Regions from separate parts of the Homo sapiens genome. Here all the other regions are linked to region 4. Evidence: promoter capture Hi-C in human tissues and cell types (Jung and others, 2019). All regions are on one chromosome and are shown on one strand. Each heading gives the region's core, a stretch centred on a gene start or on the middle of the fragment in contact. The rest is flanking DNA. Distances are from core to core; before and after follow the strand shown.

Region 1 (2,700 bases), core at 139-2,638, 310 kb after region 4:
GGACCTAATATATTTCAGGGAAATGTCCAGTCAGGAGGCCAAAGGGCTGAGTTATGGGGAGTGGACCAGCCAGAGTTTTCACATAGTTCATTGAACCTAAGACACAGTTTTAGCCTATGAAATAAAGTACGCTGTAATAAATTCAGGAAATCCCAAGTCAAGTTCTTTCCTTCTGGCCTGCGACTTAGTAATCAACATGGTTATTCCCTGCTACTTAAGGAAAACCCATGGTTCTGAAGGACAGTGGTAGTATATAGGTAAAATCTTCCAGAAAACAAGTGTGTTGGTTTTTTTGTTTTTGTTTTTTGAGACAGGGTCTCGCTCTGTCACCCAGGCTGGAGTGCAATGGTGCAGTCATAGCTCACTGAAGCCTCGAACTCCTGGGCTCCAACTATCCTCCCACCTCAGCCTCCCAAGTAGCTAGAACTACAGGTGTGCACCACCAGGCATGGCTGGTTTTTTAAATATTTTTTGTACAGACAGTCTTGCTGTGTTACCCAGGCTGGTCTCAAACTCTTGATCTAATGCAATCCTCCTGCCTCAGCCTCCCAAACTGCTAGGATTATAGGCATGAGCCACTGTGCCTGGCTGTGGTTTTTTTTAAGTGCATAGATTTTTTTTCTAAGTGGAATGTTGTAATAAGTTGGCCTTTGCCAGGAAATCTATCTTGATGTCATATTTTCCACGCAGGCCCAGGGTACCTTGTCAGTAGATCTCTAATTTCCTGGAAGTCAATTACCCAATCAACTGAGCAGCAAAGACAGTGATCTTGGGCAAGTTACTCACTGTGCTTCCATTTCCTCACCTGTGAAACAGGGACAACACCAGGACATGTCTTTTAGCATTGTTGTAAGGATGAAACCAGTCCAAAACTGACCCTGATACATGATGAGCGCTCACTAATGTTAGCTATCATTAATCACCATTGTCATCACCATAACTCATCATTGCCAGCAGACATTTTATTTTATTAAGAATGCTTTTTTAAATTCAGTGCCAGTACTAAAACATTAAAACAGTAGACATATAAATTTAGAATCCTAGTTTTTGTTTAAAAATCCAAACCTCAGTGGGGCACAGTGGCTCATGCCTGTAATCCCAGCACTTTGGGAGGCCAAGGAGAGAGGATCACTTGTGTCCAAGAGTTCAAGACCAGCCTGGGCAACATAGTAAGACTCCATCTCTACAAAAAAAAAAAAAAAAAAAAAAAGGTTGGGTATGGTGGCACGCACCTGTAGTCCCAGCTACTCAGAGGCTAAGGTCGTGGGATTGCTTGAGCCCAGAGGGACTACAATTGCTGCAGTAAGCTGTGATCGAACCACTGCACTCCAGTCTGGGCAACAGAGTGAGATCATGTCTCAAAACAAAAAACAAACAAACAAACCAAATAAAAACAGGAAAAGAAAAATATAGTAAAATAAAATTAAAACTTAAGCCTCTGGGTCCACCAGGCCTGCATTGGCCCAAGGCAACCTGTAGTGGCTGCCCCTCCAGGCAGAGAGGCATGTGCCCTCCAGCTTGCCACCGTCCCCATCCAGCTCACTAGCCCATCTCCATTGCTGCTTGGCCCCCATGTGATCCTGAGGGTGAGAACCTTGGCATCCTGCTGATAAACAGATAGGAAGACTGAGGCCCAAAAAGGAAAAAGGTGCTGCCAGCCCTGGGCCCCAGGAGCCACATGCCCCTGAGCCCTGGCCCAGAGCCCTTTCCACGATCCCATGTTAAATTCCTTTGGCCCATAAGACCAGAGGGAGGCTGAAGTCTCAGCTCCAATTTTTCAAAGCTGAAAAAGACCAATCCCCTCCTACTAAATATAATGGGATTTCCAAAGATGGATGGAGACAGTAGTTTAGGGTGGGGCTGGGGTTGTTGCAGGAGTGTGTGGCATGTCTGGTGTTTAATGTTTCAGCCTCTCTTCTGCGTTCTTTTACATTTAGTGAATTACCAATATTAAGGCAAAATAGATCTATTAGACAATTACCTAAGGGAACTCAGCTGCTACCATAAAGCCAATGAAGTTATGACAGCAGGGCCCAGGAGGAATCAGAGCTGAGTAAAACCTGTCGAGGCTGCTGACAAATGATGATAAAGTGGTCGCTTTTGCCAGTGCTCAATGGAAATTGACAAGGTGAGCCTCCCCACCTAATGAACAGATCCAACCCCTGTTCCCGATGAAATGCGCAGCAAGTTTAATCTCAATAAGCATCAAAATAAATTTGTTCCCACGTTTAGAGAGAGCACAGACATGTGGGCAGGAGCCATGGCCTTCATGGATGGGACCCAGGCTGTGGTGTAGGGGTGGCAGTGAAGGTGCTGGGGGCTTCCCCATCAACAGTATCTCAGGTACATCTGCCTAAAAATACCTCCATTGCCCATTCTGTCCACTCCCAGAACAGAAACTGAGGCTCAGATGGCACCTACGTCACAGAGACCCCAACCGCTCAGAGAGCAATTGTCTCCATAACTCCTATTAAATGTGCGCAGCTCTGATTCTTATAAAGTAATGTCAGTTACAGAACAATACCAGCCTGCCAGGCAAGACACATTAGAGGAACAAGGCGGGTGGCGTGGGGGTGGGGGGAGAGACACTCCCACCACCAACCCTCGGAATACAATGCACCAGCTGCACATTAATAAATATGTAATGTTTGATTAGAAATATGTATAGTATTTTTTTCCCTCCCCAAATGCCGGCTCGCC
Region 2 (2,700 bases), core at 98-2,597, 320 kb before region 4:
TAATTAAAAAGTATAACAAAGTTGGAAGACTCACCATTTACAATTTCAAAATCTACTCCTAATTTACAGTAATTAAGACAGTATGGTAATGGCATAAGGATAGACCTATTGATCAATTTGATAGAATCAAGAACCAGAAATGGGCCCATACATCTATGGTCAATTGATTTTTGACAAAGTTACCAAAACCGTTCAATGGAGAAAGAATATTCTTTTCAACAAATGGCAATAAGACAATTAAGTAGCTACACGAAAAAAAAAATTTGGACCACTACCTCACATCATATATAGAAAATAAATTGGCCAGGCATGGTGGCTCACACCTGTAATCCCAGCACTATGGGAAGCCGAGGCGGTGGATCACGAGGTCAGGAGTTCAGGACCAACCTAGACAACATAGTGAAACCCCGTTTCTACTAAAAATACAAAAAAATTAGCTGGGCGTGGTGGTGGGCACCTGTAATCCCAGCTAACTCGTTGGCTGAGGCAAGAGAATTGCTTGAACCCAGGAGGCAGAGGTTGTAGCCAGCGGAGATCATGCCACTGCATTACAGCCTGGGCAACAGTGCAAGAGTCCATCTCAAAAAGAAAAACAAAAAAGAAAATAAATCAAAAAGGAATCAAAGACCTAAATTTAATATCTAAAATAATAAAGATGAAAACATAGGTTTAAATCTTTGTAACCTTAAATTAGGCAATAGTTTCTTAGATATGACACCAAAAGCACAAGCAACCAAAGAAAAAAATAGATATGTTAGACTTCAACAAAATTTAAAACTTTTGTGCATCAAAGGACACAATCAAGAAAGTGAAGAGATAATACACACAATGTCAGAAAATATCTGTCAATCATATCTCTGATAAAGGTCTAGTATCCAGAATGTATAAAGACCTTTTACAACTCAACAATAAAAAGAAATAAAATAAATTTTTAAATGAACAAAGGATATGAATAAACGCTTCTTCAATGGTAATTTACAAATGGCCAAAAAGTACGAAAAGTTGCTCAATATCATTTGTCCTTAGGGAAATGCTAACCAAAACCACAAGATACCACACTGCATTCCCTAACATAGCCCCTTATAAAATAAACAAAACAACCAGAAGATAACAAGCATTGGCAGGAATATGGAAAAATTAAAGCCCTGATACCCTGAGAGTATAAAATGGTGCTGTCACTGTGAAAAACAGTTTGTTGATTCCTCAAAAGAATAAACAATTAACCATACGATCCAGCAATTCAACTCTTGATCTATACCCAAGGGGATTGGAAACATATGTTCATACAAAAATGTATACATGATGTTCACAGAACATCATGGAGCATTATTTATGAAAAACAAAATGTGGAACCCACCCAGATGCCCATCAACTGATGAAAGGGTACATAAATATGGTATAGACATGCAACGGAATATTATTCAGCCATAAAAATGAAGCTTGATATATGCTATAGTGGATAAACATTGAAAATATGCTAAGCAAAAGAAGTCGACACAAAATGTCACATATCATGTCATATAATTCTATTTGTTTGAAAAGTCAAGAAATAGAAAATCCATAGAGACAGAAAGTGAATTACTGCTTGCCAGGAGTTGCAGGGAGGAGAGTGGGAGTGACTGCAAACAGGTGTGGAGTTTCATTTTGGGGCGGTAAAAATGTTCTGGACCTAGATAGCAGTGACGTGGCACAATCTCGTGAATATACTAAAAACCACTGGATTGCATACTTAAAAATGGTAAATTTTATGGTTTGTGAATTATATTTCAATTAAAATTAATAAATGTATGAAAACAATGAATCACAAACTTAAATGTAAGATGTACAACTATGAAACTTTTTTTTTTTTGAGACGGAGTTTTGCTCTTTCTGCCCAGGCTGGAGTGCAATGGCATGGTCTTGGCCCACTGCAACTTCTGCCTCCCAGGTTCAAGTGATTCTCCTGCCTCAGCCTCCCAAGTAGCTGGGATTACAGGTGCACGCCACCACGTCCGGCTAATTTTTGTATTATTAGTAGAGACGGGGTTTGGCCATGTTGGCCAGGCTGGTGTCGAACTACTGACCTCATGTGATCCGCCCACCTCGGCCTTCAAAAGTGCTGGGATAATAGATGTGAGCCACCGCGCCCGGCCACCACTTAAAAAAAAAAAAAATAGGCTATAGCCTTTGGGATCTGGGGATGTTCAACATCATCAGCCATTAGAAAAATTACAATGAGATATCACTACACATCTCTCAGAATGCTAAAATTAAAAAGATGACAACACCAAATGCTGGCGAGGGTACAGAGAAACTAGGCCATTCATATATTGCTGGTGGGGATGTGAAATGGCACAGCCAATCTGAAAAACAGTTTGTTAGTTTCCTTAAGAACGAAACATGCAATCACCATAGGGTCTAGCAATTGCACTCCTGTGCATTCATCTAAGATTAACACTTCTGTTTACACACATCTGTATGCAAATGTTTATAGCAGCTTTGTTTATAATATCTCCAAACTGAAAGCAACCTAAATATCTTTCAACGGGTGAATGGTGAAACAAATGTGGTACATCCATACCATGCAGCTCTACTCAACAATAAAAATGTACTATTTATAGATGCAGCAAGCTGCATACGTTTCTAGAGCAATATGTTGGGTGAATGAAGCCAATTTTAAAAGAGAACATGGGATATCTCTGTATTATTTCTTCAAACTGA
Region 3 (2,700 bases), core at 192-2,691, 310 kb before region 4:
GGGGGAGAAAACAAAGAAAGCGATTTGGTCTTTCCCCATGAGCAAGGCAAGAGCAGCCCTGTCTGTGTGAGGAAAAGAAAGAGCCCATTAGAAGAGCAGGAAGGTTCAAAACTGTAAAGCAAAGTGCCAAATTCTCCCCTAGTTTTAAAATAAGATTGGAGGTTGTCAGGGCACAGAAAGAAGGATCCTGAGGTCTTAGAGTGGCAAGGTTCTCTTCGATTTTGATATTAATGTGGAATGACTTTGTAGAGCAGAGAAAGATTCTGGGCCTTACAGAAAGACATTTAAGAAGAAATCCTAAGGGCCGGGTGTGGTGGCTCATGCCTGTAATCCCAGCTCTATGGGAAGCCGAGGGGGTGGATCACGAGGTCAGGAGTTCAAGACCAGCCTGACCAACATGGTGAAGCCCCATCTCTACTAAAAAAAAAAAAAAATAGAACAGTTAGCCAGCCGTGGTGGCATTCACTTGTAATCCCAGCTACCCGGGAGGCTGAGGAGAAGTGCTTGAACCCAGGAGGCGGAGGTGAGCTGAGATTGTGCCACTGCACTCTAGCCTGGGTGACAGAGTGAGACTCTGTCAAAAAAAAAAAAAAAAAAAAAAAAAAAAAGAAGAAGAAGTCCTAGAGAATCAAGATTTCTGATGTCCATGATGCATCTCTGTCACCAGCAAAAGATGAGGAGAGATGGGGGCTGGGCCTGAAAACTTCATTTGGAGATGCCTCATCTCATGTCCCAGACAGAGGCCTTCTCTCAAAGCACCACTTCTGCAGCGTGGGCACTGCAGAACCTTTGAAGTCACAGATTCTTCCAGGCCTTAGACATCATTCTGTCCTTGCTAAGGCACCTGAGCATGTGATTCAGCCTCTCTGCTTTTGCTTTTCTTTCATTCTCTTCTACTCAGCATTTTGTAGCAAGTTAAAGCTTGATTTTCAGTGCCATTGTGTTTTTTTTAAGGGCAGAAATTTTGATTTCCCAGTCCCTCTGAACTTCTTTCCAACAGTGATAACTGAAGCTTCTCAGGATGATCCCAGTATGTTCTCCGAAATATAAAAGATAAAGATATGTTGAGCCAGTTTTGTTTTGTTGGGTATTTTCTGATAGCAAAACTAATAATATTAGTGACTCTTTTTTTGCTTTATATGAATTACTTCATTTTGTTCTTCACAAAATCCTTCAAAGTATGTATTATAATTATCCCACCGTATGGAGGAGAATCCCTCAGATTAATGGAGTTAAATAACTAGGCCTGGACACATAGCTAATTGCTGGTACCTGTGAACAACAATTTGAATTGAAGCCTAGAGCTCTCCAAAGTCTAAGCTCTGACCCACCAAGCATACCAACACCTCCTCCATGCCTTAAACAGTGTTAGTCTGTACAGAGAGGACTTGACAACTCTGCTAATCAGAATATTTCTTGAACAACTAATGGAAGGGATAAAGAAAGAAAGGAGGAAGGCAGAAGGAAGAGAAGGAGGGACAGAGTGAGGGAGGAAGACACAAGTCACTGCTGCCTTGTGGGAGATGCACTGGACTTAGCATAGCTGCCCTGGTGTCCTGGTCACTGCTCTCCCCCTGTGGCTGAATGGCTTGGGACAGGTTGCCAGACCTCTATATGTCTTCACCATTAAAAGAGACGTTTAAGAAAGGATAAATTTCTTCTTCCTAAAGAACCTCTCCCAGTCCCTTTGTCCAATCCTGGCATCTCATTTTTCAATGCTTACATAGACCTCTCCTCTGGGGTCACCTGGCACAACAACGCTTTACTAACTGCCTTCAATTCTTAGGTCATACTGAGGCATTAGGCTTGCCAACCTGGTTGAAGTGTGAGATCTTAGAGAAAAAGAATCTTCTTTCCTCCTCCTTTATCTTCTTTTCTCCTCCTCTGCTTCCTTCCCCTGCTCCTCCTTCTTCTTCTCTGTTTTTCTTACAAGGGTTAAACAAGGGTCTATTTTGAGCTTAGCACAAAGTCTGTTCCCACTTTCTCCAAGTGTCCCACCTAAGTGCTGAAGCTCAGTAAATAAGCCCAATTGGAAGTGGATACATGATTAGTTAATTGTTCAGTGGCAAAGTTCTTACAGTTGATTTTCTCTGCAATCACTCTAGAAAAAGATAAGTAAAAGCCTTGGTTGGTGGGAAAGATGGTCTTTTTGAAGATAAAAAACATATTCAGAGGAATGTTTTTGGGTTAGTTCTTTTTTTTTTTTTTTTTTTTTGCACTTAGCATCTGACAAAGAGAGAGTCATTAATGCCATAGCGTGCATATGAGACTGTAATGAGATGATTCTCACCTGAGTGATTTCTGAGGCATTCATCTCATTGAATCTAAATACCAGGGATCCAGACTCCACCAAGATTTTAGACTTGGTCTGGTAAACAGGGTTTAATGACTAAGAAAACATGTAGAGTCCTCAAGGATATAAATCAAGCATCAGGACCCCAAACCAGTGATCTCCCACCACAGCAAGCTTTAGTCTTATTTGTAAAACTGTAGGATCCTCAAGCCTCCTCCCTAAGAAGAATCAGGAAGAGAATCCTAAGCCCAAACACTGATTTGTCTATTTCCTTGCCTGAGGAAAGATTTGTCTGAGGTGTTTCTGACGCTCAGATGGCAAATCGGGCCGCTCTGTGTGGACAAGTGTGTCTCTGAATGAGACTTTGGTATTTTTACGATTGGAGGTGGGGAAAGGTGAGGGCAAAT
Region 4 (2,700 bases), core at 25-2,524:
CCCCTCCCCCCGGCCGGAGCTGAACTCGGAGCCCAGGCCGGTCCCCGCTCTCCGCCCGCCCGGGGCTCTGCGGCGCCACCGCTGCCGCCGCCTCCCCGCGGAGTGACGCGCCCTGCAGCCAACCGGGGCAGCCGGGGGGGAGGTCCGGGAGGGGTCCTGGGCGGAGCCGGGCCGCCCCCTTATCCCACGGGCTCGGGGCTGCTTCTCCCGAAAACTTCAGCCCTAATTGTCCTGGGAATGTCCGAGGTAGAGAAAGGGAGCGAGGGAGCAAGCAAGAAGCTGGAGGATCAGTGCCCCTGGCGGGGAGGGGATGGGGTGGCGGGAGAACTGCCCCTCCCCCCAGCCACAAACCCATCAGGTTCCCAAACCTTTCCTGGATCCTCTTCTCCGCGCCCCCGCGAGCCCGGGATCCAGGGGATGGAGAACTCGGGGCGGAGGAGCGCCGAGCCAGGCGGGAGGGAGGCCGAGCCGTGGGCGGGAGGCGGACCGGCGTGGGGCTGGCTCTTCCCCACTCGCTTATTTTTTTTTTTAATGGGGGTGGGGGTGGGCTGCTTTCTGGTAGCTCTTAAAGAAACGAAGAAACACTCACGAAACGGGACGCCCTCCCCCCTGATCCCGCCGCGGGACTCCCTCCCCCCGCGGGCCGGCGCGCCTCGCCCCCGAGTTGGGAAGTTCGCAGCGCGCCGGCAGCCCGGGTCCCCAGCCCTCGCCGCCCGGCCCCACCCCCCACCCGGGGCGGCTCAATTCCGGGGAGGGCATGCTAATTTGGGTCGGCCCAGCCCGGGATTGTGGGGGGGGGCGAAGGAGGGAGGGAAGAGGGAGGGGAGAGGGAGAGAGCGGGGGGCGCCTGCCGGGGCGCCGGGCCCGCAGTGGAGAGGAGGCCGGCCCCCGGCGGCCGGGCCGCGGAGTCCCGGGCGGTCGCAAAGAGGGTTAACCCAGTGTCGGGCGGCGCGGCGCGCAGAGCCAGCCCCGCGGCCGGCTTATTGGGCCAGCGCGCGGAGAGACAGGGGTCTGCAGCAAATCACGAACTAATTGATTAAGGCGAGCGGGTTTGAATAGCGCTGGCCCGGTGCCAATCGCCTTTCAAAGAGCCCCTCTATGATTAATCGCAATGCATTATTGATAATCATAATTATAGCAGGACACATGCGCGCTGCGCCCGGGGCCGGGGAGCCGGGGAGGGGGCGGGCGGGCCGGCGGGCGGGGGGAGCCGCCGCCGCCGCCGCCGCTCGATTTCCGTAATTTTGAGAAGATTTTTTTTTAGTAATTTTTTATTCTGCCCCAGCTGATGTTTGAGCCAGCATGTCGCGGAGGAAGCAAGCGAAGCCTCAACATTTCCAATCCGACCCCGAAGTGGCCTCGCTCCCCCGGCGAGATGGTGAGTGCTCCGGCCCGCGCCGTGGACACACACACACGCACTCACACTCACGCACACTCGGACCCACTCACACGCGGCTGGCCCCCGCGCCCCCTACCTCACCGCCGCCGCGGCCCCGATTGCTTCTTCCACTCGGCGTAATTTTTTTTTTCTTTTTAATTTTCAATGTGCCTTTGCTGGGCTTTCCCCCGCTGCCCCGGGGAAAGCGAGCACATCTCCCGGCAGGATCTTTCCGGAGTTGTTGGGTCCTCCCGGGGGAAGGAGGGCGGGCATGCCGGCCTGGCTTCTCCGTCCCTGCTTTTCCGGGGATCCCAGCCGCGGCCAAGACCCGGGAGCCCCATGAGGCGTGGGTGCGGGTGGAGGTCGCCCCGGCCTGACCGCACGGGGCCCCTAGCGCTCCCGGCGCCGGCCCCAGGGCACCCGGCCCGGCCTCCGCCGCCCGGCCTTGCTGCCAGCGGTAAGGAAGTTTACTTCGGGCGCTGGGCTGAACTCCGAGCGTGGGGGAGTTCGCTGCGCCCCCCTGCCCCCACGCACACTCCCCCTCGGCCTGCGAGGCAGAACCGGGTGTCTTTGGAGGTTCAGAGCTGCAAGAAGATGGGGACTGGTGTCGGGGCGCCAGCGCCTGACCCGCTGGGGTTGCGGCCGGGGTGGAGAGTGCTGCTGGCCGCCAGTTGTTCCGGAGACGGTGCAAACGGACGGGGAAAGTGTCGGGGTCTGGCTCGCAAAATTTATCTCCGCATCTCTTCCCACAACACTTGCACCCTCTGCCCCCCAAAATCTTTCTGGTCGGTATGCGCCCTCTGCGGATCGTGGTGCTCCCTACTTCCAGGGGGGTCAGGGAAGAAGTCATAGAATAGTTTTCCAGGTTTGCGGGTGGCCAGCCAGAGTGGAATCCCCCCTGAAACAGGGGCACTTGTTTTCTCCGATGGAGGCGACAACTGTGGGTCCCGAAGGGGCTGAACAAGTCCAGAACAAAGTTTGTGTGTGGGGGCTATGGCAGAGAGTGGAAGAGATCCGGGCAGGGAGTTGGGGTACAAAGGGAGGACACCTGGAATCCCTCCTTGCTCCTAAAGGTGTTTCACGGTACCGGCCTCAAAGCTCCCAGGCCTAGCGCCCGAGGCGGTGTAGCGGCGCCCGGACTCGGGTCCCCGGGTCGTCCCGGCACGATGCTGGCCTCTCGGCTGTGGGAGGACGCACAAGGAGCAATCTCGGCGGGGTCTCAGCGGCTCCGGATGCCACTCGGGATGCCCACGCCCTAGGCGGCATTTTGGGGTGTGAAGGAGGGAGCTGGGCCCCGACAGAGCTCCGAAGCGTGACCCTGA
Region 5 (2,700 bases), core at 191-2,690, 280 kb before region 4:
CACAAATTTCACATTTACCACCTCTACGAGTTTTCTAATAATTTCTTCATCAAATCATATGTTACTATTAGCATGTGTATGTATTCGACAACAAATTCACCCAGAACCTCCCAGTTCTGTGTGTGAAGGTAGTGGGAGGTGGCAGGGATTGGGTGGGGCTATAGGCTTACAGAAATTACAAACTGTGAAACAGTCCCTGTCCAAAGTCATGGGCAAATGGGTGCCTACAGACACTTAAACAAACAACAATATTAGTGATCGTTTATTATAAAGACTAAGAGTGCGATCTCTGAGCCAGGCTTTCTGAGATGCAATTTAGTCTCCACCACTAAACAGCTGTGTGACCTTGGGCAGATCTCTTACCTGTCTGTGCCTCACTTTCCTCATCTATGAAATGGACATGAAAACTATACCTACTTCATAGAGTTGAATGAGATGATATGTCTAAAACATTTAGAATAATGCCTAACACATTATAATATTATGTAAACTTTATCTTAAAAACTAATGAATGAAAATTATAATTTGATGTGCTAACTATGGACCAAGCACTGTGCTAAGAAGGGTTTTACACTGATTATCTATCTCATTTCACCCTCACAAGGAAATGCACCCATCAACCCTGGAGACGTTACTTGGCCTTGGTTGTAAATTGGGGTTAATGAAGTACCATCCTATAACATTGTCAAAAGGAAACAATGAGTTAATATGTGTAGAGTAGTTAGGGCTAGGCCAGTACAAAGTTAAGGGCTTAGCAAGAGAAGTTTACAAAGTTTAAATAGTTTGCCTGGATTCACATGGCCAATTGATAAGGGTTGAATCATTATTTAAACCCAGGCATGCAATTACTACCTTACCACAGTGACTGACTGAAAAGAATGCACAACCAGGCGCAGGTCTACGCAAAGCTTTGTGAAAGCACAAATCCTTCAGTTGCGCCTGGGAGGATCAGGGGAGTTTATATAGAGCAGATGATCCTACCTTCCTTCCTTCCTTCCTTCCTTCCTTCCTTCCTTCCTTCTTTCCTCTTTTTCTATGACAATGGCAGTAGACATTCATTTACTTTGGTTCAGTGCAATAGTAATGACTCGGTATACACTAAAAGAATGTTACAAACTCCTGTGGGTCAAGAGACACGATCGTTTATCACAGGCCAAGATGTAGTCACACATCACGTGATCACACAGGCTGGTAACTGGCTTCAGTGGTGGTTGGGCTGACTCAGCCTGAAGCAAGAGGAAAGCAAATGTGGTTAATTAAGACTGCAGGGAATGTTTAGACTGTGTGCAACCGATACCCCAGCCACCGTCTCCATGTTTTCCTGCAGAGGAAATTTGCATACAACTCAAATATTACTATACTTCCTAAAACCCTTTCAGATATTGTCAGGGAAGGAATTGAGAGGAAGGACTTAGCACTTTTAGAATTATCCCAGTGGCACGCTTAAAGAGTGGTGATTGATGAGAAAGGACAAGTAGTAATTCCCAAATTATGCTTCTATTTATACTTCAATTACAACATTGCGAGAAGAAAACAAGACTTGTTCCCTTCATAACCTCCGTAGAACTGGGCTTAGTGTCTCTCACATAGATGATGCCCATAAGGAATGGTGAACCAAGGGGTGAAATCGAGAGAGACTTTATCATATCTTTGATAGAATGACAGAGATCTCTCTTGGCTCTTTAGGGAAAGATCACAAAATAAAAACACACAAAGTACAAGAAGTTTTCTTTCCTAATGACTAGTAGGGCAGAACCTATTGGGTAAACATGCCCTGGAGCTGTTTTTAAACTCTAAATAAAAGACAATTCACCCTCCTGCTAATTCTTCTTTTAGCTTCCAAAATCAGCCAGTTGGCACAAGACACTAAAACATACCTAGTCCCAGCTTGACCTCGTTAAAGAAATCCTCTATAAGTACAACTCCTAAAGCAAGTCATGCTCCCAAGCAGGTTTGGAGTGACAGTAGTTCTATAAGCTCCTCCAAGAAATAAGGGTTCTTGTTCCAGTAAGTAGAGAAATGCTGCAACAATAACCCTTTCTTGGAGAATCACAATGCACACTATTCTGTTAAAGCATCTGCAACAACAGAAAAATGTATTCAATTGTGTTTAACACAATGATGCCCAAATATATTTGGCCATAAAATTCTAAAACATGTATTTGTATTTTAAATATATCTTTTAATTTACACCTATGTAATAACTATGTCTATATCTATAGAGAAATGGATATATATATCCTGAAGAAATGGTTTCTAATAAAACACACATAACAGAATACTGGTCTTGATTAGATTGTGTTGGTTGTATTGAAGGTGAGCTTAGGCCACAGGTGAGTAAGACCCTGCCCTCCAAGTAGCTACTGTTTGTGATGTCTATGAGAGGCTTTAATGGGGAGAAGATAATGTGCTATTGGAGGAAAGAGAAACTCTGGGTACAGGAATTAATGAAAACGGGAACACAATGAAAGTGGAGAAAGACAGCAAGACTTCTGAATTTATAACACCAGCCTCACCCTCCTCCCATACTTATATGCCCCAAAGAGCTGATTTTGAGCCCTGAGGGTTAAGAGCTGATTTTGAACCCTAATTTTGAGCAGGATGGTTAAAAACAAGAACTATATTCCTGACCAGGTGCGGTGGCTCATGCCTATAATCCCAGCACTTCAGGAGGCCGAGGTGGGTGGATCACCTTAAATC

What was found. The method cuts DNA at HindIII sites, captures the fragments that hold promoters and counts their contacts. A contact is called where the count stands out against the background at its distance.
Region 1: a contact is called between a fragment that was not itself captured here and the fragment with the promoter of SALL1 in region 4, in 2 of the 25 tissues and cell types used here (dorsolateral prefrontal cortex and hippocampus).
Region 2: a fragment that was not itself captured here is called in contact with the fragment with the promoter of SALL1 in region 4 in 2 of the 25 tissues and cell types used here (H1 embryonic stem cells and mesenchymal stem cells).
Region 3: a fragment that was not itself captured here is called in contact with the fragment with the promoter of SALL1 in region 4 in 3 of the 25 tissues and cell types used here (H1 embryonic stem cells, mesendoderm cells and thymus).
Region 5: a contact is called between a fragment that was not itself captured here and the fragment with the promoter of SALL1 in region 4, in 2 of the 25 tissues and cell types used here (H1 embryonic stem cells and dorsolateral prefrontal cortex).

The regions. Positions count from the first base shown.
Region 1 is chr16:50,836,387-50,839,086 of GRCh38, reverse strand. No RefSeq gene overlaps it. Among named protein-coding and RNA genes, the nearest start is that of LINC02128, 2.3 kb to the left of the region's middle. RefSeq lists an enhancer at 1,900-2,700. The HindIII fragment of the contact is 9,915 bases long and covers 1-2,700 here.
Region 2 is chr16:51,471,628-51,474,327 of GRCh38, reverse strand. All of the region lies in intron 2 of LOC102723323 (a long non-coding RNA gene), which reads left to right. Among named protein-coding and RNA genes, the nearest start is that of HNRNPA1L3, 170 kb to the left of the region's middle. The HindIII fragment of the contact is 3,503 bases long and covers 1-2,700 here.
Region 3 is chr16:51,455,280-51,457,979 of GRCh38, reverse strand. All of the region lies in intron 2 of LOC102723323 (a long non-coding RNA gene), which reads left to right. Among named protein-coding and RNA genes, the nearest start is that of HNRNPA1L3, 190 kb to the left of the region's middle. RefSeq lists an enhancer at 1-92. The HindIII fragment of the contact is 3,931 bases long and covers 1-2,700 here.
Region 4 is chr16:51,149,844-51,152,543 of GRCh38, reverse strand. It overlaps SALL1 (spalt like transcription factor 1), which reads left to right and starts at 1,274. Exons shown (of 3, transcript NM_002968.3): 1 at 1,274-1,378. The coding sequence starts at 1,303. RefSeq lists an enhancer at 1,577-2,077. The HindIII fragment of the contact is 9,229 bases long and covers 1-2,700 here.
Region 5 is chr16:51,430,224-51,432,923 of GRCh38, reverse strand. All of the region lies in intron 2 of LOC102723323 (a long non-coding RNA gene), which reads left to right. Among named protein-coding and RNA genes, the nearest start is that of HNRNPA1L3, 210 kb to the left of the region's middle. The HindIII fragment of the contact is 3,903 bases long and covers 1-2,700 here.